Regions from separate parts of the Homo sapiens genome. Here all the other regions are linked to region 3. The links are contacts of gene promoters, found by promoter capture Hi-C in blood cells and fetal thymus (Javierre and others, 2016). All regions are on one chromosome and are shown on one strand. Each heading gives the region's core, a stretch centred on a gene start or on the middle of the fragment in contact. The rest is flanking DNA. Distances are from core to core; before and after follow the strand shown. Region 1 overlaps ZNF583 (zinc finger protein 583). Region 2 overlaps ZSCAN5A-AS1 (ZSCAN5A antisense RNA 1). Region 3 holds the start of LINC01530 (long intergenic non-protein coding RNA 1530). Region 4 holds the start of ZSCAN5C (zinc finger and SCAN domain containing 5C). Region 5 overlaps ZSCAN5A (zinc finger and SCAN domain containing 5A). Region 6 holds the start of ZNF444 (zinc finger protein 444). Region 7 overlaps ZNF582 (zinc finger protein 582).

The links. Contacts are between HindIII fragments. The CHiCAGO score rates a contact against its expected background, and 5 or more counts as called.
Region 1: a fragment that was not itself captured here is called in contact with the fragment with the promoter of LINC01530 in region 3 in 2 of 17 cell types (total CD4 T cells and non-activated CD4 T cells); the score reaches 8.1 in total CD4 T cells.
Region 2: a contact is called between a fragment that was not itself captured here and the fragment with the promoter of LINC01530 in region 3, in 1 of 17 cell types (total CD4 T cells). The highest score is 5.9, in total CD4 T cells.
Region 4: the fragment with the promoter of ZSCAN5C here is called in contact with the fragment with the promoter of LINC01530 in region 3 in 2 of 17 cell types (activated CD4 T cells and total CD4 T cells); the score reaches 5.6 in activated CD4 T cells.
Region 5: a contact is called between a fragment that was not itself captured here and the fragment with the promoter of LINC01530 in region 3, in 4 of 17 cell types (total CD4 T cells, non-activated CD4 T cells, naive CD8 T cells and 1 more). The highest score is 8.6, in total CD4 T cells.
Region 6: a contact is called between the fragment with the promoter of ZNF444 here and the fragment with the promoter of LINC01530 in region 3, in 5 of 17 cell types (total CD8 T cells, activated CD4 T cells, total CD4 T cells and 2 more). The highest score is 11.4, in total CD8 T cells.
Region 7: a fragment that was not itself captured here is called in contact with the fragment with the promoter of LINC01530 in region 3 in 3 of 17 cell types (non-activated CD4 T cells, total CD4 T cells and activated CD4 T cells); the score reaches 9.6 in non-activated CD4 T cells.

The regions. Positions count from the first base shown.
Region 1 is chr19:56,408,331-56,411,767 of GRCh38, reverse strand. All of the region lies in intron 2 of ZNF583 (zinc finger protein 583), which reads right to left. Among named protein-coding and RNA genes, the nearest start is that of ZNF583, 5.7 kb to the right of the region's middle. The HindIII fragment of the contact is 4,293 bases long and covers 1-3,437 here.
Region 2 is chr19:56,326,844-56,330,612 of GRCh38, reverse strand. The region is part of intron 1 of ZSCAN5A-AS1 (ZSCAN5A antisense RNA 1); the gene reads right to left. It also overlaps a transcript of ZSCAN5A not described here. Among named protein-coding and RNA genes, the nearest start is that of ZSCAN5A, 14 kb to the right of the region's middle. The HindIII fragment of the contact is 8,424 bases long and covers 1-3,769 here.
Region 3 is chr19:51,592,835-51,596,418 of GRCh38, reverse strand. It overlaps LINC01530 (long intergenic non-protein coding RNA 1530), which reads left to right and starts at 2,039. Exons shown (of 2, transcript NR_034159.1): 1 at 2,039-2,470; 2 at 3,368-3,584. RefSeq lists a silencer at 1,122-1,289 and enhancers at 1,372-1,421, 1,632-1,941, 1,688-2,323, 2,324-2,959, 2,960-3,584. The HindIII fragment of the contact is 8,842 bases long and covers 905-3,584 here.
Region 4 is chr19:56,200,945-56,204,408 of GRCh38, reverse strand. It overlaps ZSCAN5C (zinc finger and SCAN domain containing 5C), which reads right to left and starts at 2,136. Exons shown (of 5, transcript NM_001358413.3): 1 at 2,087-2,136. The HindIII fragment of the contact is 5,550 bases long and covers 1-2,528 here.
Region 5 is chr19:56,305,273-56,308,902 of GRCh38, reverse strand. All of the region lies in intron 2 of ZSCAN5A (zinc finger and SCAN domain containing 5A), which reads left to right. All of the region lies in intron 14 of EDDM13 (epididymal protein 13), which reads right to left. LOC124900420 reads right to left here. Exons shown (of 5, transcript XM_047439799.1): 5 at 1-3,630. The coding sequence starts at 2,662. The coding sequence ends at 1,544. Among named protein-coding and RNA genes, the nearest start is that of ZSCAN5A-AS1, 7.6 kb to the left of the region's middle. The HindIII fragment of the contact is 6,781 bases long and covers 1-3,630 here.
Region 6 is chr19:56,140,004-56,143,520 of GRCh38, reverse strand. ZNF444 (zinc finger protein 444) reads right to left here and starts at 2,234. Exons shown (of 5, transcript NM_018337.4): 1 at 2,164-2,234. RefSeq lists enhancers at 2,272-2,411, 2,442-2,771. The HindIII fragment of the contact is 17,292 bases long and covers 1-3,517 here.
Region 7 is chr19:56,386,479-56,390,085 of GRCh38, reverse strand. It overlaps ZNF582 (zinc finger protein 582), which reads left to right. Exons shown (of 5, transcript NM_001320371.4): 4 at 1-85. It also overlaps the pseudogene SLC25A36P1. Among named protein-coding and RNA genes, the nearest start is that of ZNF582, 5.3 kb to the left of the region's middle. The HindIII fragment of the contact is 1,923 bases long and covers 809-2,731 here.

The DNA.
Region 1 (3,437 bases), core at 898-3,397, 4.8 Mb before region 3:
TCTATCTCTGAAACATTTCTTAATACAAGGAAATCTGAGGAAGTGACTTGTAGCTTCAAAGAAGGAAAAGAATGTGAATCAGGTCTAAAAATTAAAACTCGTGCTGGATAGGCCTGGGCGCTGCTAATCATCAATTCTACTGTAACTCAAATACTTCAATACAAACTCTTTAAAATTTTGTGCGGGAAAGTGTTCCACACACATCATTTATTCTGTAGACATTAGCGAAGCAGCTTTTGCTACATGAAGTCCTTGAGACATTTTTTAGCTGCACACATGAACTAATAGAGTCTGTGTTTTAACTATCTGACATTTTCCTGTCAGCCAATGAGACCATGAATACCTTGTACATTTTTTTATATTTACTTTGATTTAATTTAAAATATTGCCATCATTAAAGAAACTTAAAATATACTTTCCAGTATTTCTACCCTCAGTGATTTCCCCCCACTCCTTTGTTTTAATTTTATTTTTTGGGAGACCGGATCTTGCTCTGTCGCCAAGGCTGGAGTACAGTGTCACAATCATGGCTGATTGCAGTCTCAACCTGTCAGGCTTGAATGATCCTCCCAACCTCAGCCTCTCAAGCAGCTGGGACCACAGGCACTCATCACCAGGCACAGGTAATTTTTTTTTTTTTTTTGGTACAGATGATGTCTCACTATGTTGCCCAGGCTGGTCTCAAACTCCTGGGCTGAAGGGATCCTCCTGCCTGGGCCTCCCAAAGTGCTAGGATGCTGGGATTGATTACAGGGGTGAGCCACCTCACCCAGCCAATTTTTTCCCTTTTTAAGTTAAAGAATTGGAAGTCTTTCACCCCCATGCCTACTCCCATGTCACCCTACCTCCTAAAAGCAATTATAATTTATAGTTAGTATAATCTGCTCAAACGGTTCCTTATACTAATGTCTATGATTATGTATATATTTCACTTACTGATAATGTCACTTTTATTGGCTGAGTACTATTATACAGTATAATTATGCCCTATCTTATTTACTAACCCCCATGCTTATTTTCAGTTGGGTAAATCTTAATTTTTGTTGTTGTTGCTGTTTGTGTTTTTGACATGGAGTCTTGCTCTGTCGCCCAGGCTGGAGAGCAGTGGTGCGATCTTGGCTCACAGCAACCTCCACCTCCCATGTTCAAGCAATTCTCCTGCCTCAGCTTCCCAAGTAGCTGGGATTACAGGGGCCCACCACCACGCTCAGCTAATTTTTTTGTATTTTTAGTAGAGATGGGGTTTCACCATGTTGGCCAGGCTGGTCTTGAACTCCCGACCTCAGATGATCCACCCACCTCGGCCCCCCAAAGTGCTGGGATTACAGGCGTGAGCCACCACACCCAGCTGGATAAATCTTAATGTTTTACTATGATGTTGCATAGGTCTTGAATTATTTTCTTAAAATCGATTCACAGACGTCATTCTCTCCATTGAGACCAGGATTTCACAAAATTACTTAACCTCAAAAAAATTTTTAATTACACTATTTTGACCCAGCAACGATACGGTCAAATTGTTTTTGAATTGAAAAAACAATTCAGGGTGGGAGTAAAGTGTTGGCTTGCACTCGAAGACATACTCGAAGAGTTCTTCAGGTATTAGTAATACAGAAGGAAAATGGAAGCATGAAAACACAGGAAGAAATTAAGAGTTCTAAAGCAGTAATTACAAATAGAGCAATAAGAATATTGTGGAGTTAAATCACCATAGGCATCTTATCCTGTTCAGGAAGTGATAAGGGTACTAATCATAGGAGGAAGATTACAGAAGAAAGAAGGATTACTACATATGAGTAATGGATGAATATTATCTTAGAAAAGCCACTAAAAGAACAATAAAAATTATGTATAATTACTAAAATAATAAGGAAAAATACCTGACTTAACCAAAAAAAAGCAAAAAAGGAGAAACAAAGGAAAAAAGAACAGATGGGATAAATGGAAAACAAACAGAAACACAGTAGCTTTAAGCACGTACGTATAAGTATTACATTAAATATGTAATAAACACTAAAAGATTAAGATTATCAGGCTAGCTTTTTTAAAACTAGCCAGTTATATGCTGCTTACAAGAGGCATACTTTAAATATAATCTTTAAAGGCAGAGGTTCTCAAAAACCATGCATTAAAATCATCCTGGATACCTGTAACCCAGCTACTTGGCTACTTGGGAGGCTGAGGCAGGAAGACAGCTGGAGGCCAGAAGTTCAAAACCAGCCTGGGCAAAATAGTGAGACCCCATCTCAAAAAAAGATAATCATCATCCTGGGAAACCCAATAAAAATGTGTTTTCTTAGGTGCCACCAAGAGACCATGATTCAGGAGGTCTGGGGTGGGGTCCTGGAAACAGCATTTGGGCTAATGGGTTCCACCTATTCTACACATCATACTTTCAGCTTTTTCTTTCTTCTGTTACCAAATCAGTAGCAGGAAAGAAGAGGTGGCTAACTCTAGCTATCCTGGTCTCACTCACAGATAAGGAATTCATCTGAATGCCTATTACCAACCAGGCACTATTCTAAGAGTCAGGAATACAAAGGTGAACAAAACAAAGTTCCTCCTCTTAATATTCTAACAAAGGAGAAAAACATTAAACATAAGGTCATACATGTCAGGTAGTGACATATGCCACAAAAAACAAAAGAAGGTAAAGGGTGATTAAGAGTGATAGGCTGTTTATTGTAGATAATATAGTCAAGGTAAGTCTAAATGAAGAGGTAAGGTTTGAACAACAATCTAAATGAAATGGGGGAGCAAGCTATGTCAACATGTAGGGGGATGGGGGGGCAAATGCAAAAGTCCAGAGACAAGAAAAAGCACAGTAAGTCTGAGGGACAGCAAATTCACAACTGTGATTAAAATGAAGAGAGGTAAATACTTGTAGAAAATGAGGTCTAGGAAAGCCAGGACCTGAAGCACAAAGGGCCTTATAGGCCATGGTTAGGACACTGGATTTCATTCCAAGTAAGATAGGAAGGCAATGAAGGTTCTGGGCATGGGAGTGAAATAATGAGCCCCATCACAGACTCGCTACAGTGTCCCTCATCATTTTCTACCACCCTTTTCATATCATCACTCATCATCATCGACATTACTGACCCTCAATTTTTATTACAACTTCTTACATCTGACTCAGTCACTAACTGGTTACGTGGACATGTCACTTTCTTCCCCTGGCCTCTTTTTCTTCATCTGTAGAATGAGAAACTTGGACAAGATCACCCATAATTATCTTCCTGGCTTTACTGTTTTATAAGCCTAAGACTGTGCTGTCTAATACACTAGCTACTAGCTACATACGGCTAAATTTAAATCAATTAACATGAAAAATTCAGTTTCTCAGTCATGCTAGTATATACAAGTCTTTGTAGCCACATCTGGCTAGTGGCTACTATGTTAAACACTGCAGATATAGAACATTTCTATTGTCAATC
Region 2 (3,769 bases), core at 134-2,633, 4.7 Mb before region 3:
AAACATGAATAAATGCTTAACTTTACTAGTCGTCAGAGAAATGAAAGTCAAAACCACAATAATGAGATGCCATCTTACACCAGTCAAAATGACTATTATTAAAAAGTAAAAAAAACAAGAGATGCTGGCAAGGCTACTGAGAAAAGGGAATGCTTATACACTGTGGTGGGAATGTAAATTAGTTCAGCCACTATGAAAAGCAGTTTGGAGATTTTTCAAAGAACTTAAAACAGAACTATCCTTTGACCCAGCAATTCATTACTGGTTTTATATCCAAAAGAAAATAAATTTTTGTACCAAAAAGACACATGCACCCATATGTTCATTGCAGCGCTATTCACAAAAGCAAAGATGTGAAATCAACATAGCTGCCCATTATTAGTGGATTGGATAAAGAAAATGTGGTACATATACACCATGGAATACTATGCAGTCATAAAACGGAACAAAATCTTGTGCTTTGCAGTGACATCGATGCAGGTAGAAACCATTATCCTAAGTGAATTAACACAGGAACAGAAAACCAAACACTGCATGTTCTCACTTATAAGTGGAAGTTAAACACTGAGCACACATGGACATAAAGATGGGAACAGTAGACACTGGGGAGTACCAGAGGGGAGAAGCAAGACAAGAGGCAAGGGCTGAAAAACTATTGGGTACTGTGCTTTCTATCTGAGTGACAGGATCAATCATCAAACCTCAGCATCATGCAACATACCTAAGTAACACACCTACTCATGTATTCCATGAACCTAAAGTGGAAATTAGTTTTGAAATAAAAATTTTTTAAAAATAAAAACATTCATTGTTGGGATAAATAAACTACCCAGATTACAATGGTGATACACAAAGAACAAAATAAGATATTTGACCTACCAAGATGTGAGAAAGTAAATTATCATGAAAAACTTTTTTTTTATGTTTTTTAAATTGTATTGACTATTTCAAGGAATATTTAGATGTTGACTTTCTCTATTTTTCTATTTTCAATTTCAATAATTTCTACTCCAATTATTATTATTATTTCTTCTGCTTGCTTTGGGATTAGAGTACAGAATACAGTACTTTTTCTAGTTTCCTAAGGTATAAACATAGACTATTGAATATAGAATTATCTTCTTTACTGATATACTTAATACTATAACTCTCCTATTTCCCTCTTAGCATTTCTTTTGCTTCATCCTACAAATCTGGTAAGTTGTAACTTCATTTTTATTTAGTTCAACTTTTGTTTGTTTGTTTGTTTTTGTTTTTGTTTTCTGAGACAGAGCCTGGCTCTGTCACCCAGGCTGGAGTACAGTGACACGATCTCGGCTCACTGCAACTTCTGCCTCCCAGATTCAACTGATTCTCGTGCCTCAGCCTCTTAAGTAGCTGTGTTTACAGGCATATGGCACCACGCCCAGCTAATTTTTGTATTTTTAGTAGAGGCGGGGTTTCGCCATGTTAGCCAGGTTGGTCTCATACTTCTGGCCTCAACTGATCCATCCACCTTGGCCTCCCTAAATGCTGGGATTACAGGTATGAGCCACCATGCCCAGCCAAGGTCAAATTATTTTTAAAATTTCTGTTACATTTCTTTTATTTATTTATTTATTTATTTTTTTTTTTTTTTGAGACGGAGTCTCGCTCTGTCGCCCAGGCTGGAGTGCAGTGGCGCCATCTCGGCTCACTGCAAGCTCCGCCTCCTGGGTTCACGCCATTCTCCTGCCTCAGCCTCCCCAGCAGCTGGGACTACAGATGCCCGCCACCATGCCCAGCTAATTTTTTTTTTTTGTATTTTTAGTAGAGATGGGGTTTCACCGTGGTCTCGATCTCCTGACCTCATGATCCACCTGCCTCGGCCTCCCAAAGTGCTGGGATTACAGGCATGAGCCACCGCGCCTGGCCATATTTCTTCTTTGACCCACATTTGGTTTATGTGATTATCTTCTTTACCATATTTTACCCATTTTTTGGAACAATTTTTTTTTTTTGAGTCAGAGTCATGCTCTGTAGCCCAGGCTGGAGTGCAATGGTGTGATTTCAGCTCACTGCAATCCTCGGTTCAAGTGATTCTCCTGCCTAAGCCTCCTAAGTAGCTGGGATTACAGGTGCGCACCACCATGCCCAGCTAATTTTTGTATTTAGTAGAGATGGGGTTTCACCATGTTGGTCAGGCTGGTCTCAAACTCCTGACTTCGTGATCCACCTGCCTAGGCCTCCCAAAGTGCTGGGATCACAGGCATGAGCCACTGCGCCTGGCCACAAATATGTTTTTTTAATGTCATAAAACTAAAATTATTTTATAATAAAATAGTAAAATTTTTAAAACAGGAAGTTTGCATTCTGTGACAGCATTTTTCTTTATAATTGTATCTTTGGAAGTATTCAATATGTTGAAAAAACAACTTGCAACATACATGTCAGTTATAAAACATAGTAAAATGATGAACTACCAAAAACATCCCCATCCACCTAAGGAGTAAACACTGATCACTTCTCCTGTCCATCCATGCTTCTCTCTTTCTCCCTTCACTGTGCTACTCCCATACATGACCACTACCATAAATGTTGAGTTTATTATTAAGCTACTTCTAACTATGTGGATATACTTCATAATATAAATGTATGTAAGGTTTATAATGTATATGTATCAAAATATGTACTAATGTGAATATATCATGTATACTATCATATTTTGATATATATGAATTATCTATACTACACATATTCATTTACATGGGAAATATATACACGTATGGATACTTATGTAATACTACATATAACACACAACTATGCATATGTAATACATGAACTACAGTGCATATGTATCGCATGTGTATGTAAATACACATGTAAAAACAAAATAGATTACATATATTAGTAGATGTGTAAAATTGAATATATACATAAATTTATGTATTGTATAGTATTTGTATAGAATACATAAAATACATTTATACCTAGATAGTATAAGATATGCATGCACTTATATTGTAAAATATGCATTTTGGGATGTAAAATTATATATCATACATATAAGATATTTGTATATATTTAATGTCATTTAATATAATGTGCATATTTATATTCAATATGTGTATGACTTATATGGTATACATATTTAACATGTACATTATAAAACATAATATATAAACATAGTAAATGTATTATTAATAAATATATATATTTATAATTAAAATCATTGCAGTTGGCCAGGTGCTATGGCTCACACTTGTAATCCCCCACTTTGGGAGGTGAGATGGGAGAATTGCTTGAGGCCAGGAGTTCGAGACCAGCCTGAGAAATATAGCAAGACCCCATTTCTATAAAGAATAAAAAACATAGCCAGGTGCGGTGGGATGCACCTTTAGTCCTAGCTACTTGGGAGGCTGAGGCAGGAGTATTGCTTGAGCCCAGGAGTTTGAGGCTGGAGTGAGCCATGATCGTGTCACTACACTCCAGCCTGGGTGACATTAGAGACCTAATGTATATATAGCATGACGAATGTAGTAAATCCTAATGGACACCTGAAATTAGACTCTATCTCTAACAAAAAAAAAAAATCACTGTAGCTTTTCTATATTCATGTAAGTGTCACATGACTATTTTGAGGTTAAGCACAACCTCAACTCGTGAAGGGCATTGTAGGTGGGTCAGCATATAGCACTGAGTGAATGTTTGCTGGATGAGTGAATGATGGGTACAGAGCAAAGTGTAAGGAGTGTCTTTCAGCTGCTATGTTCTGCTCAAGGCTGGTTTCTTTATGTGTTGAAGAGGAAGC
Region 3 (3,584 bases), core at 790-3,289:
GGGAGGCCTCTTCACAGTCCTCATATCCTGCCCATCACCCCTCTTCTCATTCTGTTTGTGGGTGACTCTGAATCGCAATGTCCACCAGCCTGGCCCTCCAAATGCCCCACGGAAGATCCCATCTAGGCCTCTCATATCTCAGTGCCCAACTGACCAGCTCTCACACCCCAAGGCAGAAACTTACCTAACCAAGCTCCCCGTCTCCCGGAAGCAACACCACCTTTCACCCAGCTTCTCTATGGAAGACAACTCAGCTTTTTCAACCTCTGAATCTGCAGTCACCTAGTACTGGGGTTCACTTCCTGAGGTCCTTATCAGATCCAGTTGCATCCCTGTTTTAGTTACCTACTCACCTCAGCCAGATGAACTTCCCATTGGTTTTTCAACCCCTTGCATCTTTGGCCAGGCTGATCTCATTGCGCAAGACACTTCCCTAAACACTGTGGTAGACCTAACTCTTACCTTCAAGTCTCAGCTCAAACTTTCATTCATTCATTTAACAAATACCCACTGAGTGCCGCCTATGTACCCAGCATGCTCTAGGTACTGGGACACAGCAGTGAGCAAGATAGGAAAGGTTGCAGCTGTCAGGGCACTGATGTTCTAATGGAGGAACCAGGCCATGGATAAGGAAGTAAATGACTAAGATGCTTTCCAAATACGAGGGAATTATCTTTGGTGGTATGACTGGGGGGGGGGGAACAGGGAGGGGGTTCTTTAGGGTGGCTGGAGGCCTTTGAGCTGAGGCCAACAAAATGAGTAGACAGATATTGGGTCAGGGTGGGAAGAATGCTCCAAATTGAGTTAATAGCAAATGCAAAGGACATGAAGGGCAGGGCCTGGCTGTGTTCAGCCCATTGGAAAGTGTGTTGTGACTGAGGACGACCAGAAAGGACCAGAAGCTTAGAGGTTGGCAGGATAAGGAGCTTGGATTTTATTCTGAGATGGGAACCACTGGATGATTTTAAGCTGGGGGGCAGGGTAGTGACTGGTGACAGGATCTGATTTATATTTCCACAGGCTTCCTGGCACTGTGCCTGAATAGAGGGTGGAGTGTGGCAAGGGAAGAAACAGAACAGTGAGGAGGCCCCTGCAGTGATGCAGGTGAGGAGTAACGGTAGCTCGGAGCAGAATGGAGACAGTGGAAGTGGAGAGAAGTGGTTAGATTCTGGGCCTCTTCTGGAGATAGAGACGATGAGACTCACACAAGATTTGGTTGCGGGAGGGAAGCGGATGAGAGAAACAGAACACTGGCGACCATTCCAAGATTTTGGCTTGAGCACTTGGATGGACAGTTAGTGGGGAGGAGGCAGAAAGATTGTGAGAGGAGCAGGTTTAGGACAGGGAATCTGGGATTTCGTTTGGATGTGGTAGATTTGAGGTCCTTTGCTCTGTAAGGTCTTTCCTGAACCCTGGGCTGGGTCTAGCACCTCCTCTGTGTTCCCACAGCCTCCTGAGCACCCCCTGGGCCAGCCCTGACCACTCTGTGTTGTAACCAGGACAGAGGAGGGTGCACTCGCACTGCACCCAGGTTGAAGGGCGAGAGTGAGAAGGTGTCAGGCTGGGCCGCAGAATCCAAAGCGGGTCAGCAGGTACAACAGCTGCTTAGAGCACTCCCACCCGGAGAGAGGGATTGAGAGATCACGGAAAAGGGTGCCATCTTTCCAGGGACGCCTACCAGAACGCGGGGGAGAGAAATACAGAGACCCTCAACTCCGCCACGTCATCGCGACAAAGGGCCAGGACCGGCCGGCCGCGGGATGGGCGCTCACCTGGGCAGAACTGGAGCTGGAAGGGCCAACCTCCAAAGAAACGAGGAGCGGGCGGAAGGACTACGACTCCCGGAAGGCTTTGGGCCCATCCGCCTACGACTCCCAGGTGCCCCTGCGTTGCGTCGTCCCGAAACACTTGCGGCTCTCGGACAAACTGGGCCTACAGTTCCCAGAGATCCTCGCGGCAGCGCTGCGCATTCTGCGCACGCCTCCCAGAGTGTACTAGGCCGGTCCGGCCCGCTTCCCGTCTGCGCCTGCGCAAGCACAATAGCCGTGCCAGAATTCTCTGCCAGCTGCTGTGCACTGCTGTCAGTGCAAAGATGGGATGGACTTTTTTTTCAGATTTTCTGCTGTTGTGGGAGTATGGCAAGAGTTTGAGGGGGCGGAGAAAGAGATTGGGAATGTGAAAAGGGAAGATAGCACCTGCGCTAAGCACATTCCTAGGATTGGGCCGCGTCTCGGGGATGCAGAGTGGGCTCTTCGGCGCGCCCTGCAGCCATGGGAGTGGACGCCTGCCCAGGCCGAAGGGCAAGGACTTGCGGGGTGGGGTCTCTGTGCATGCGCGGAGCTGAAAGGGAGCGTTTTGCAGATCTCCACGCGTGCGCAACTCTCGGGACGTGGACGCGGTGAACAGTTACGCACAATCGTCTTTCTGACACAAACACACCCTGCCAGGTGGAAGCCAGGATGGAGGGCAGGTGAGACCCGTAAGGCAAGATCCCAAAACCAAGGAACGGAGCACTCTCCCCGCTTGCTCCCCAGATCCAAGCCCTCCACTTCCTTCCAATGCCCCCCTTCCCGAAACTGCTCCCTCCTGTATATTCTGAGATCTTATCACTATTCCCGTGAGGCCCTTGATAAGGAGGATTGAGAGTGAAGGGTGATGGGAGACACGCCTTGGGCGTCTTCTGTCCACCTCAAGGATTGAACTTTGGTAACTGGAACTCATTCATTTGTTAATCTGTGTGCTAGGCCCTTTGACCCGCTGGCCAGATGCACCGGGACACAGGTGTATTCAGCCTGGTCCAGAGATAAGGATGATAAATCTTAATGTAAAGGTATCAGATGTTAAGGGCTGCAGGAGCCCAGAGGTTACAAGTGCTGCAAGCCAGAACATGGGGAAACAACAGCAATTAAGCCGTTAGCTTGTGCCTTGGAGGGGTGTTTGCCCTGCACCCCACTCACTACCTGAAGATAAATGGCTTCTCCAACGTGTAGTGGGGTTGGGATGATGAGGATGACATCACTGCCAGGTGGGAGGCAGGAGCTGCAGGTCCTGACATGATGAGGCAGGTATGGGCCGCCCTGGGCTGAGGGGGACATGGGCTACCCTGGACTGGAGGGCTGGGCTGTGGCATGGGGACCCTGTCAGAGACAGGTGTTTGGCCTCCATGCCTTCCTGTGTCTCTGGAAGGGTGAAACTAAGCGGGATGCTCCTCTCCCAGCCCCACCTGCTTTTCAGAGGCTACCATATGCTGGAGGGGGAAGATCCTGGCCACAAGCAGAGGCCCTGGAGGTGAATCAGTGTTGGAAGTGGGGTGGTTGGTTCTGGGTCCTCCCTGAGGCTCACATGGCTGCCCCTCCCCATCCTCCAGGCCTCGCCTTCTGTCCCGGATCCGCCAATCCTCCGATCCCTGGATCCTCTGATGATGGCATCAACTGTCTGGGCTACAGGTTGCTCTCCAAAGAGTGGCTGCCCCTCTACACCAACCTCACTGTGGACATAACTTCCAAGCCTCAGGAGACCCAGTGCAAAGCTGAGGGGTATCTTATCTGGAAGCCAGAAAGAGCCCCTGAGGCCAAGGTCACAGG
Region 4 (3,464 bases), core at 887-3,386, 4.6 Mb before region 3:
AGAGTGGCTGTTCCCAAAAAGACACATGGAACGAGTGTTGGTGAGGATTCGGGGGAAAGGGGTCCTCTGCGCCCTGTGCTGGGATGTAAATTAGAGCAGCCGATATGGGAGACAGTATAGAAGCTCCTCAGAAAATTGAAAGTCCAACAACTGCATGAGCCGGCAATCCCGCTCTGGGGCAGGTACACAGAGGAAAGGAAATCAGGACGTGGACTCCAAAACAGTGAAACTCTGGAGGGATAGAGGGAGGGAGGGTTGAAAAACTACCTATTGGTTGCTATCCTCACATCCTGGGTGATGGGTAGAGTCATACCTCAAACCTCAGCATCACTCAATATACTCATGTAACACATCTGCACAGGTACACCCCAAATTTAAAATAAAACTTGAAATTATAAAATAGTTTTTAAAATAAAAGAAGTAGGTAATGTAAACAATAATTAAAAACCTAGTGGACTCAGGCTGAGTGTGGTGGCTCACGCCTGTAATCCCAGCACGTTGGACGGCTGAGATGGGCGGATCACCTGAGGTCGGGAGTTCAAGACCAGCCTGACCAACATGGAGAAACCCCGTCTGTACTAAAAATACAAAATTAGCCAGGCTTGGTGGCACATGCCTGTAATCCCAGCTACTTGGGAAGCTGAGGCAGGAGAATCACTTCAACCCGGGAGCCAGAGGTTGTGGTGAACAGAGATCGCGCCATTGCACTCCAGCCTGGGCAACAAGAGCAAAACTCTGTCACCAAAAAAAAAAAAAAAAAAAAAAAAATTCCCAGTAGACTCATAGTAGCAGTGAGTAGAATGGTGGTTAACAGGGCTATGGTGAGGGTTGGGGAGATATAGGTTTAAGGGTATGAATTTCAGTTGAAGAGATCAGTTCAAGAGAGCAATTGTCCAACATGGTGACTTCAGTTCATAACAATGTATTGTATAATTGGAAATTGCTTAAAGAGTAGACTTTAAGCATCCTCATGACCAAAAATGATTAGTCCATAAAGTAAGGCATGTGAATATCAGCTCAATTTACCCATTTTACATTGTTTCTATCCTGCAAAGCACATTATGCTGTACACCATAAATACGTATCTTTCTTGTTTTTCAATTTAAAAGTAAATTTTTTTTTTTGAAAAAGCATATGGATATGAGAGAGAAAAGGCAGCCTGAAATTCTGGAATTAAAAATGATTTTGCCACAGGGCACCTGCTGCTGCTCAGGAGGCTGAGGAGGGAGGATCCCTCGAGCCCAGGAGTTTGACAACCACCTGGGCAACATAGTGAGAGCCTGTCTCTAAAAAAAGGGGTTCATGTTCCTAGAAACCACTTTGTATTCGCTGTCAGTTCATTTCCCATTAAAACAAGCAATGGGACATGGGAAAAAATAAAGGCAGGTACGCGGGTTAGTATTCAATTCTGGGAGTATACAGCACACAGGACCCCCAGGTAGGGACACTTAGTGCAGATTCTCATTGGCCTAGTAGGTTGATGCCCATTCATCAATGGCTGATTTTACCCTGTGGAAAGGGAGAATCCAGCGATGCTTTTTAACAAGTGGTGTGTGGCCAGCAAGGTGGCTCACACCTGTAATTCCAACAGTTTGGAAGACCAAGATGGGAGCATGCTTGATCCCAGGAGTTCAGGACCAGCCTGGGCAATGTACTGAGACCCCATCTGTACAAAAAAAATTAAACATTTATTCAGGCATGGTGGCAAGTGCCTGTAGTTCCTGCTACTTGGGAAGCAGAGGCAGGCGGATCGTTTGAGTCCGGGAATTCCAGTCTAGTCTGGGCAATGAGAGAGATCTCATCTCTAAAAAATAAAATGTAGCCTAACCACGATGAGAAAGTTAATATTATTCCTATTTTAAGGGAGAGTTATATAACAAGTCAGAATAAATAATAGGGTGCAAAGCAGACCCACTGCCTTCACAAGGTGTCCGGGCAAATGCATGAAAAAATAAACCCAAATCTTTCTGAAACCAACACCCCAACCCAAATCTTTCTGAAACCAACCCCTCAATCCAAATCTTTCTGAAACCAACCCCTGCAGGCCAACTCCAAAACCCCACAGACATCCCCAGTGGACACTTACCTCCTTCCTGACTTCTGCCTCCAGCCTCCTCTCTTCTAGGATGTGCTCTCCAACTGCTCTGGAGCTGAACTGTCTATTTATAGAGAACCCCCGGGACTCCAGGCCTCTCTTCCAGTCCCCTGGGCCCCCACATGATTGGTTTAGGGCCATAGAATCCATTGAAGGTGATTAGCATTGATTACATTTCTCAATGAAACCCCACCCACAGGAAATTAATGTATTAAACATGCCTACCATGCAAATAACATAGGTTTTCCCGCTCTACTGAATTACATTTCATATTTCTGAAGTATTTGGAGGCTTCAGGGACTATAGATCTGCAAGTTTTAACCACTTTGCGTCCCCTCATGGCACAGACAGTAATATCCTAATGAGTAAAGGACATGTTAAGAGTTGGTTGAATAATATCAAACCAGTGATTTGCTCTAGTTTAAGGAAAGCTTTCACATGTGAATGTCAAGATATTGAAAAAAAAAGGGACAGTCATTGTTGATACATAATGAGTAGTAGTGATAATTTTTCACTTTTCAAAATCTGGGAATTGACATGGGAAAGCTGTGCTTGAACTAGGCTAAATCACTGCTTTGATATCAGCCAACCTACTCTTAGGTAAAAACAGTGGGAACCAGAGGAAGGCACATGGTCCCCACTCTGCATTCACTTTAGGATGATGGGAGGTGGTTTATAGACATACTGAGTGCTCCCTAGTTCTCAACCCCCTCAGTTAGGCCTCTCAAGCAAGAAAAGCCTTAATGGTGGTATGAATTTTACTGTGTGGATCATGGAGACCATGTGGAATGACAATTAAGTGCACTTTATACTGATTCTGGTTTCAATCCTTAGGAAATCTTAACCCACTGAATTCTGGAAACTTCAAACTCCCTGTGACTAGAACCAGGGAATTATTACCTTCCTGACATGTTGTTTTGAAGATTAAATAAGATTATGTTGGCCGGAAGTGGTGGCTCCCGCCTATAATCCCAGCACTTTGGGAGGCTGAGGCGGGTGGATCACAAGGTCAGGAGTTTGAGACCAGCCTGACCAACATGGAGAAACCCCATCTCTACTAAAAATACAAAATTAGCCAGGCGTGGTGGCGCATGCCTGTAATCCCAGTTACTCGGGAGGCTCAGGCAGGAGAATCACTTGAACCCGGGAGGCGGAGGTTACAGTGAGCTGAGATCATGCCATTGCACTCCAGCCTGGACAACAAGAGCAAAACTCCATCTCAAAAAGCAAACAAACAAAAAACCAGATTATGTCAGTAAAGTGCCCGATACAAGGTCATTTTGCCAAAAAGTTCTGACACTTATTTTCTGATGCATTTTCTCATACTCTGTGATGTTTTTCCTTGTTAAGAATTGAGGTATTGATAGTG
Region 5 (3,630 bases), core at 240-2,739, 4.7 Mb before region 3:
TTATATGAAAATAACTATCTGGTTTGACCGGTGCTTTAATGTATGGTTGAAGAGAGCCTGAGAAACCGTTCAACACCATTCATTTCCTTCAGCATCCTCCCCAGTGGAATCTGAAGGATTGCTGTTGGTTCCTGAACCAAAGCATTGCTTAGGTGAATCTTGAGGACTGAGGAGGACTTTTCTAGGTAGACAGAGATCAAGGAATCAATGTGTGCAATGGCATAATGGAGCGGGAAAAAAAATGTGATGTTTTGGGGGGAATCAGAAATGATTTAATATGGGGGGGCGTGGTGGCTCATGCCTGTAATCCCAGCACTTTGGGAGGCCGAGGTGGGTGGGTCACCTGAGGTCAGGAGTTCGAGACCAGCCTGGACAACATGGTGAAACTTCATCTCTACTAAAAATACAAAAATTAGCCAGGTGTGGTGGTGCATGCCTGTAATCCCAGCTACTTGGGAGTCTGAGGCAGGAGAATCGTTTGAACCTGGGAGGCAGAGGTTGCAGTGAGCTGAGATTGGGCCACTGTTCTCCAGCCTGGGTGACAGAGTGAGCCTCCATCTCAAAAAAAAAAGACTGGGAGCCACCGCTCACGCCTGTAATCCCAGCACTTTGGGAGGCCGAGGCGGGCGGATCACAAGGTCAAGAGATCGAGACCATCCTGGCCAACATGGTGAAACCCCGTCTCTACTAAAAGTACAAAACTTAGCTGGGCGTGGTGGCACTCGCCTGTAGTCCCAGCTACTTGGGAGGCTGAGGCAGGAGAATTGCTTGAACCCGGGAGGCGGAGGTTGCAGTGAGCCAAGATTGCGCCACTGCGCTCCAGCCTGGCGACAGAGCGAGACCCTGTCTCAAAAAAAAAGGTTTAATATGGACAGGGGATGGAATGTGGGTGGGGGGATCAAGAGAAGTGGAGAAAAGTTTAGAGAAGCAGGAGGAGCTTGGAGCCTGAGAACCCTTGGGTACCATGCCAGAGACCTGAACTTGATCAATGGGGCAGAGGCTTCCTGCCAGGTTCCCTGAAAACTTGGGATCTTTTAGGAATTCCACAAAGGTTTGCTTTGATTTTCATTTCAAAAATTAAACTATTTTTTAAAATAGGTGTGTACCCAAAATATAGCACATGGACTGAAATTTTTATTCACTGGAGAGCCACACCAACCTGTTGCATGTTTTACATACAGACCTTGGGGAAAAAATTGTATTACCTGAAGGGCATGTACACTTCACAAGGCAAACTATTAGGCATTTGCAGTGACTTATCTCTGTGGGCTCAGATTTTTCTCCGTATGAACAATTAAAAGGAAACACTGCAAGATACGGGGTAAAAGAGAGTAACGTAAGACAGCAGAGGCCTTCTGTACCCTGTGCTTGCAAATCTCATCACCTCACTTCATAATAAGTAAATGTCACACAGTTAACCTTAGGAAAAGTACCTCTGGTAATGAAAAGCAACTTAGAATTTTTTATATATTGGGATTCCATGTAAGATTTCAGTAGAAAAGTGTTTTGGATTTTCTTTCTTTTAAAGTTTGAAAGACACTCATCATAGTTGGTGAGTTTCCACTGGTGGATTTAAGCAGGACTGCAGCAGGGGGTGGGGGTATATCGTATGATCGAGTTGACATTTTTTAATGTAAAAAGGGCACTGGGGATGCCAGGGAGAGGATGAAAGGCAGGCGACGTGGGAGAGGCCAGGGAGGAGCCTCTTTGTAGCTATCAAGGGAAGAGAAATCTCCCATCTGTCCTTAGTACTTTCTCTGGCGACGTGGGAGAGGCCAGGGAGGAGCCTCTTTGTAGCTATCAAGGGAAGAGAAATCTCCCATCTGTCCTTAGTACTTTCTCTGGCAACAGGGGAGAGGCCGGGGGGGACCCTCTTTGCAGATACCGAGGGAAGAGAAGTCTCCCATCTGTCCTTAGTACTTTCTCTGGCGACGTGGGAGAGGCCAGGGAGGAGCCTCTTTGTAGCTATCAAGGGAAGAGAAGTCTCCCATCTGTCCTTAGTACTTTCTCTGGCGACGTGGGAGAGGCCAGGGAGGAGCCTCTTTGTAGCTATCAAGGGAAGAGAAATCTCCCATCTGTCCTTAGTACTTTCTCTGGCGACGTGGGAGAAGCCAGGGAGGAGCCTCTTTGTAGCTATCAAGGGAAGAGAAATCTCCCATCTGTCCTTAGTACTTTCTCTGGCAACAGGGGAGAGGCCGGGGGGGACCCTCTTTGCAGATACCGAGGGAAGAGAAGTCTCCCATCTGTCCTTAGTACTTTCTCTGGCGACGTGGGAGAGGCCAGGGAGGAGCCTCTTTGTAGCTATCAAGGGAAGAGAAATCTCCCATCTGTCCTTAGTACTTTCTCTGGCGACGTGGGAGAAGCCAGGGAGGAGCCTCTTTGTAGCTATCAAGGGAAGAGAAATCTCCCATCTGTCCTTAGTACTTTCTCTGGCAACAGGGGAGAGGCCGGGGGGGACCCTCTTTGCAGATACCGAGGGAAGAGAAGTCTCCCATCTGTCCTTAGTACTTTCTCTGGCGACGTGGGAGAGGCCAGGGAGGAGCCTCTTTGTAGCTATCAAGGGAAGAGAAATCTCCCATCTGTCCTTAGTACTTTCTCTGGCGATGCGGGAGAGGCCAGGGGGACCCTCTTTGCAGCTATCGAGGGAAGAGAAACCTCCCATCTGTCTTTCGTACTTTCTCTCCGTACCCTGGACCCTAGCCTTGACCAGGCTACCGTCATCTCGTGGAAACTGAGTAGCCTCTTAACTGGCCTCTACACTTCATGTCACTGGGACGTGTCTCTTTCTCACTGACAGCCTTTCCGTGGCTTCCCATGGCTCTGAAGGTTGGGTCTAAAATGCTTGCTCTAATCTTCCAGGTCTGAGGTGGTCTGCTGAGCATGTCACCCACACTCCTCCCATAGTGCCCTCCCACTCCCTCCCCCTTCTCCTGCCCCCATTTTTCTTTCTGACTCCAGGCACATCTAGGCCACTTTCCACCCCAGGGCCTTCGTACAAGCCAGTTCCTTCACCTGGAGGCTCTTTCACTTGTTTTCTGTGTATCTGACAACCCCTCATTCTACAGGCCTTTGATTCATTGTCACTTTCCTAAAGAGGCTTTCCTTCATCACCCAACTATCCAGGGCAAGGTTCTTTAGTTCTCTTTTTCATCATATCCTCAGCTTTTCCTCTAGCTCTAAGTATCACCTGTAATCATCTAATTGTTTTCTTGTGAGCTCAGGAATCTTGTCTGCCCCGTTCACTACTGCATCCAGGATGCATCAGTGGGTCGTTATAAACACAGAATTATCATATGACCTAGCAATTCCACTCCTAGTTTGTACCCCAAAAGATTTTAAAACAGATATTCTAACATAACTTGTTCATAGCACCACGACTCACAACAGTCAAAAGGTGGGAGCAACCCAGTGCACTTTACCTGATGATGGATAAACAAAGTGTGCTATGTCCATGCCGTGGAGTGTTATCCAGCAGAAACGAATACAGTCCTGATACAAGGTATACCATGATGAACCTTGGAAATATTATGCCAAATGAATAAACCCAGATGCAAAGGGCCACGTAGTGTATGATTCCATGTGTATGAAATGACCAGAGTAGGTGAGTTCTCAGAGACAGAGAGTAGACTA
Region 6 (3,517 bases), core at 985-3,484, 4.5 Mb before region 3:
CCACCCCACCCATCCATCAGTTTAAGGGCTGATGAACCTGGGAGCAGGCAGAAAGACTTATCGGAAGACCCAGGCCAGATCCAAGTCTCAAAAGCCACACAGATGCCTGCTCTGCTATAAAAAAGATCCCTCTGGGACTAAGGAGGAATTTCCGCCAGAGAGCAATGCCACAGGCCATCAAGCTGACCCTGTTTGCAATCTCAGAGGTGATCACAGGTCACTACACCCTGGGCTGTCCAGAAAGTGAGCTCTCTGGGGCAGTGACCAAGTCCAGCTCTTCACTGGGTCGGTGGGGCCATCCAGCACAAGGCCTGCTCCCAAGAAAGCACATGCTGTTAAGTAAGGGCCTTCCACCATGTCAATCCACCCTACCATCCAATGAGCGCCCTGTGCTATGTGCATTCAACAGCTGTAACCCTGCTGTCTAGCTGTCTGTGTCCGCAAAGCACAGTCCAGTCCAGAGCCAGGCACCCTGGATGCCTTGAAGACAGCCACTGAGTGGCTAGTGTCTTATACTGCCCCACCCAACCTTCCCAACAGACCTGTGAGCTGGGGAGATGGGTCCCCTCTTACCATAGGGAGATGCTCAGAGAGTGAAGGAGCCACAAATGGGACCCAGATGTGACTCCAGAGTCCACACCAGTTCCACCTAGTACCCCGGCACCAGCACCCACATATGCTGGGTTAATATCATGGCTAAGAGGCTGTGGAGTCTGGCTGCCTGGCTTCAACTTCCAGCTCTGCCACTCATCAGCAGTGTGACTGTGGACGTGTGACTTACCCCCTCTGTGCTTCATTTCTCCACCTGAGACACAGGACTAACAAGAGCTCCTTCCTCTCAAGAGGCTGCTGGGAGCAGGAGTTAGAAGCAGCCTCCAAAGGCTAAGTGCTCGACAAAGACCGGTTTGTCTACTCTAGGTTCCCAACCTCGACATTAATGGCACTTGTGTCGTGGCGGGCTATCCTGTGCAACATACGATGTCTACCAGCATCTCTGCCTCTTTTCATGAGATGCCAGTAGCACTTCCCAAGTTGGAAAAACCAAAAAAAAAGTCTCCAGACATTGCCACATGTCCCCTGGGGGACAAAACCACTCCTGGTTGAGAGCCGCTGGCCCACTGGACAAATATTTACCTACGGCACAAAGGCTCTGGGGCAAATTCCAGCTCTGCCTCCTACCAGCTCTGTGTCCTTGGACGAGGTACAAGGCACCTTTTGTAATACCCTGTATCTCCATTTCGTTGACTGTAAAGTGATAGAAGGAGAACAAAAATGCTGAGAACCACACCTGGCTAGTAAGTGTCCAGTCAGACTTAGGGTTACTTTGTCGAAGTTTCCCTGCGAGGTGCCCAGGGGACACTGCTATGAACACGCACGCAGATTAAAATACTAAGTATACATTGGAATAGGCGTTAAAATCGGATATAGAGGAGGGTGACTCCATCCTGACTGGGGTAGAGGTGGCGGGGGTCAACTTCATTTGACAATAAACAGAGTTTCTAAGCACTTTACACATATTACCGAAGGTAATAATGCCTTGCAACAAGCTAAAAAGGCAGATGCTCCGCACTGAGAAAGCAGCAAAACAGAGCAACGATTCTTATCTTCAGGAATCTCACAACTCTGTAAAAGTTGCACTTGTAGAAGCAGCGCGCAAAACGAGCCACCTGCGCCGTATCTACGTTACAACAATAACCATCGTCCCCGGAAGCCCCTTCCCGCAAACCTTTCCGAAGGGGTCCGGTCCCGGCGCCCCCAGACTCCTTTGTAGGGTCCAGCTTCCCACTCAGCTTTCATCTCACAGCCCACCCTCTGCTAGGGTCCCCTTCCCCTCCCCCACCTGTCCCTCCCCCGTCCCGCCCCTCCCCCTCCCCCAGGCGCCCCTCCCCCGTCCTCTCCCTCAGCATTTCTCTCCCGCGTTCAGGACCTCGAGGATCCACGACCCCCTCCCACTATCCACCCCTCCCCCTCTCCAAGTCCCTCCCCCTCTAGTTCCCTCTCCCAGCCCCTTCCCCATCACTCAGCCCCCTTCTCCTCCCCTCCCCGCAAGTCTCCCATCTTTCCCTCCTGAGGCCCCCGGCGCCCCTCTTCCCATCCAACCTCTGGTCCCTCCCTCGTCCAACCGCCCCCACCCAATCCCTCCCTCCTTCCCCCCTCGCTCACCTCACTCTCTCAGGCGAGGCCCCCCAAGCCCCCTCACCTCCCCGCACATGCGCACAAAGCTCGCCGGGACTCCATGCCCCAGCAGGCTTTGCGCCAAACTCCCCCGTCCCCCTCCCCCAATCCCATACTCCGAGCCGCTCGTTCAGCCCAACAACTCCCCATGAAGCCCCGGCCTCACCCCGAACTACAACTCCCAGGAAGCATCGCGGCAAAGGCGGCTGCCAATTGGCCCTCGCCTGGGGACCGCCTTACTCCTGTTTGTCACCGCGTGGCGTCTTCGCCAACACTGGAACTACATTTCCCAAGATACGCGAAAGCGTCGTCTGCAGCCTATTTGGCCTTGACGGCGCAAATGTCGCGGGCTGTCTGAGCGCGACAGGCTTTGGACTACATTTCCCAGAATGCACGAGGAGGCTTCCCAGTGGTCTGCGCGCGGGCCCTGGACATGCGCAGAAGTGCCGGGAAAAAAAGAGGGAGGAGGAGGAGGAGCCATGGCGGCGTTGTTGTGGAGATCAGGGGAGGCCGGGCACCGCCGGGCATTTGGGAGGTGGGGCCTCCGGAGCTCTAGAAGCTGGCAAGCGAAGAGGAGGAGGAGGAGGAGACCAGGCTAGAGTTCTGCGCCAATCAGGAGTGCAGGCTACGTCTCCTTGACTACGGATCGCATTTTTTTTTGTCCTCCCTCTCCACCCGGGCAGAACTTAAGGGCCGATGTCGGTGCCAGGAATCAGGACGTGAGCAGGCTGCCCTCCTGTTCCGGGGTGGGCAGTGGCTCAGGAGGGGGCCAGCGCGGGGGCCTCGGTTTGGCTCTTCCTGTGTGTGAACCTGGACAGGACACCGCCCTCTCTTTAGCCTCAGTTTCCCCTGGGGTGAATTGGGGGACAGCGCTACCTGCCACGCGTCCTCGCTGTGCCCCTATTGGACAGACTACTGCCCCGTCCTGAGGCCTCAGTTTCTGCATCTCAGAACTGTGAAGAAGCATATTTGGATTTTAGAGCAGACAGACATCCTAAGAGATCAGCTGAAGTTTTTATCTAGACAGTTCCAGACCTGATTATGGCTCATACAAGCCCTACCCCAGCCCGCAGCGTATTTCCTCCTCCGTACAACAAGGATAAGAGAATCCCCCTCCCATCCTCCACCTCCCCGGCTGATCTGAAGACTCCGCGCCATAAAAACGAAGACAGTGGCTTACCCATAACAAGCATTCATTACATGGAAGTTGTTCGTCTTATATTCATAAATGAACAACTTTCCCCAGGTTTCACAAGCGATGAGTGGCTGACTCAGAACTTTGTGACCAGTTTGCCCACGGTGGCCTAATCTGCCCTGGCCCACCTGTCTACCACTGTCTTCT
Region 7 (3,607 bases), core at 521-3,020, 4.8 Mb before region 3:
TCCAAACCTGATGTGATCTCCTTCCTAGAGCAAGGCAAAGAGCCCTGGATGGTGGAGAGAGTGGTGTCTGGAGGCCTGTGTCCAGGTGAGTGAGGTATCATTGGGAAGGGAGCAGCCACTGCAGGTATCAGGTCCGCTGGAAGTGGCCCTTTGTCTTAGAAGATCTTCCCTGCAGGTTGCTACCTTCAAAGCTTATGTCTTACGTGTTGTTTTCCTCAGCTCGTCAGCAGCATTTGACAAAGGTGGCTGCTCCTTCCTCCTGAAACACTTTAAAAATTCAACCTGGATTATAGGGCTAGACTGAGTACAAATATGGTGGTTCCTAAGGAAAGTATTTTGTCTTTGGAAAGATGTCTGTATCTTTTGACCATTTTTCTTTTTTTATTAATTTTAATTTTAATATTTAAAATTTTTTTTAACTTCAGGAGTATAAGTGCAGGTTTGTTAAATAGGTAAACTTGTGTCATGGGGGTTTGTTTACAGATTATTTCATCACCCAGGTATTAAGCCTAGTACTCATTAGTTACTGTTCCTGATTCTCTCCCTCCGCCCAACCTTCCATTCTCTGAAAGGCCCATGTGTGTTGTCCCGCTCTGTGTGTCCATGTGTCCTCATTTAGCTCCCACTTATAAGTGAGAACATGCAGTATTTGGTTTTCCGTTCCTGTGTTAGTTTGCTTAGGATAATGGCTTCCAGCTCCATCCATGTCCCTGCAAAGGACATGATCTTGTCCTTTGACCATTTTTCTAAAGGAATTTGTATCGGTTTGTTTGAATTCTGGAGTCAGTTAACAAGTACTTATTAAGCTTTTATTATGCACCATGGAATATGCCACAGTATACATTGATGAGGCAGGTGGACATTATCCTTGCTTTCATGGAACTTACACTGCAGTGGGAAAATAGACATGAAATCATACACACTGGACATGAGCTAATATGTGAAAGAAAAAGAACAGGTTCAGTCAGGGTGCATGGTAGGGCCAATGGCCTCTTCAAGGATAAGGCATTTCAGCTGAGACATGGAAGGTGTGATGTAGCTGGGGAATACCAGTTGTAGCCAATGAGTGTGAAGGACCTGAGCAGGGAGCCCTTGGTACCTCTGAGATAATGGATGGCCCTTGTGGCTGAGGTCAGTGAGCAAAGGGAGGAACACAGAGATACACTAGGGGCCGGGCATGGTGGCTCATGCTTATAATCCCAGCACTTTGGGAGGCTGAGGCGGCCAAATCACTTGACCAGTCTGGCCAACATGGTGAAACCTCGTCCCGACTAAAATCACAAAAATTAGCCGGGTGTGGTGGCACGTGCCTATAATCCCAGCTACTTGGGAGGCTGAAGCAGGAGAATCGCTTGAACACGGGAGGCGGAGATTGCAGTGATCCGAGATCGAACCACTGCGCTCCAGCTGGGGCAACAGAGAGAGACTCTGTCTCAAAAAGAAAAAAAAAGATACGCTAGGAAAGGCAACCACGTTATGAAGTTTGGGTTCTGCACTGTGGGCAGAGGGAAAGCACTGTAGAAATAGAGGCAAGCCATGATTTTATGGTCCACCTGGAGAGGATATAAATATTGTGCTTCTCACAAATTATTCACCTGCTAGTTTCAGAAGTCATTGATAGTTTTCTCTTGGATCAGATATGATTAATAGTTACAAAATAGTGATTTTTAAAAAAACTTTATTCTTATTTATTAGATCACATACTCCTGTAAAGAAGAGCTTTCTCCCTTTCACCATTTGTTTCTTCATTTATATCATATGGATTAATAGTAGGTGGCATATTTTTTCTCATTTCCAGGTCAGAATAAAATAAATCTTGTTTTATCCTGTAACAGATTATTACCCATTATCATTATTTATCACAACGTTCATAGTTTTCCAGACTTGCCCAGTGACACCCTTTCAAACTGGCTCCTGGGTTCTTTGGACATAATCCCCCCCCCCTTTTTTTATAAGCACGTTTTTAACTTTTTTAGTTTCAACAATTCAGTAAAAGCTAGTTAACATAAATACAGAAGAAGTCCACACAATTGACATCCGTGTACATAAATGCAAGAATGCCAAACCTCACATGAACCAAAAAGTATCAGCTCTTACAATGTTGACTATTTAGCTATGACTAGTAGGTCATAAATCTTCGCATAAGCAAGGGTACACATTCAAATGTTTTTTAAAACTAAGAATAAAACAATTTTATGTTTCTAAAAGGAGAAGCATAAAAGTCAATCTGTCGAAGAACATAAGGATGTGATAGAAAAGAGATTTGCGTGGGCACAAAGTTAATACACTGTGTTAATACTTTTACATATTAAAATCCCTCTGCAGCCAGGCGTAATAACTCATGCCTGTAGTCCCAGCTACTCAGAAGGCTGACAGAGGAGAATCACCTGAGCCTAGGAGTTTGAGGTTGTAGTATAATATGATTGTGCCTCTGCACTCCAGCCTGGGCAACAGAATGAGACCCCATCTCCCCTGCAAAAAAGAAAGAGAAAGAGAAATACTTTGGAGGCAAACTTTATATAGAACGTTTGTATATAGTTTTTTTTTAAGTCATCAGTGTCATACTTAAACTAAAATGCAGATTGTGTTTTTGTCTCCAAACTGATTGTAATACTTTTGAGTCCAATCAAAACACCTCAGAAACATCCAGTTACTGTTGATTACAATAAATGTGACATGCTGACAGAATTTAAGAAGGTACAGTTTTTCACTGGTGAGAGCAGTAAAAGCTTGGTAATTTTCAATAATGTTGGGATCACTACAGTGAATAGATCTGCAGAACAACATATCTAAAACCCAGACAAATGTTAGGAATACTGGTTCTGTTGAATAAATGACCAATGTTTTTATAGAAATACGTAACATAGAATTCCCTCCTGCTCTTTCACCCTCAATAAATGCTATAAAGTGCATTCACAAAGAGCCATATTAAGATAAAGCTACTGCACAAAATACAGCACTCATATATACTGAAATGAGTAGTATCACACTGGAGTTTAATTGTGCACATTTTATATACCAGTATAGCAACATCCTTAGCCAGAAGTCTCAACAGAATTATCATGAACATAAACGTTTAAGGGTTATATACATATATCAATTTAAAGTATGAAAAGGTGCATTTGAACTTCATGGCAACATTTAAAAATGATATCCTTGTTAGCACATCACCTTGAATCTATGATGTATGATTCAGCAAATTAGGACAGAATCAAATTCTCAGCAAAAAGTACTTTGAGGCTGGGGATGGTGGCTCACGCCTGTAATCCCAGCACTTTGGGAGGCCAAGGCAGGCGGATTGCTTGAGCCCAGGAGTTTGAGACCAGCCTGGGCAATATGGCGAAACCCCATCTTTACAAAAAAGCACAAAAATTAGCTGAGCATGGTGGTGCCCACCTGTAGTCAAGCTATATCTGAGTCTCTTTAAGTCAACTGGGGTTGGTTGCTATAAGTACAGTAAAACCTGCCACTGTAGCTGAAATAATGTACCAGGTAGAATCACAGTCCATTATAGCATTCAGCTTTTTCATGCAGTTTGAATAATCAGCAAAGTATGTTGCTCTAGAAGGACCCACCCTCAATCAACTGGCCTAATCCTCTAAACAAG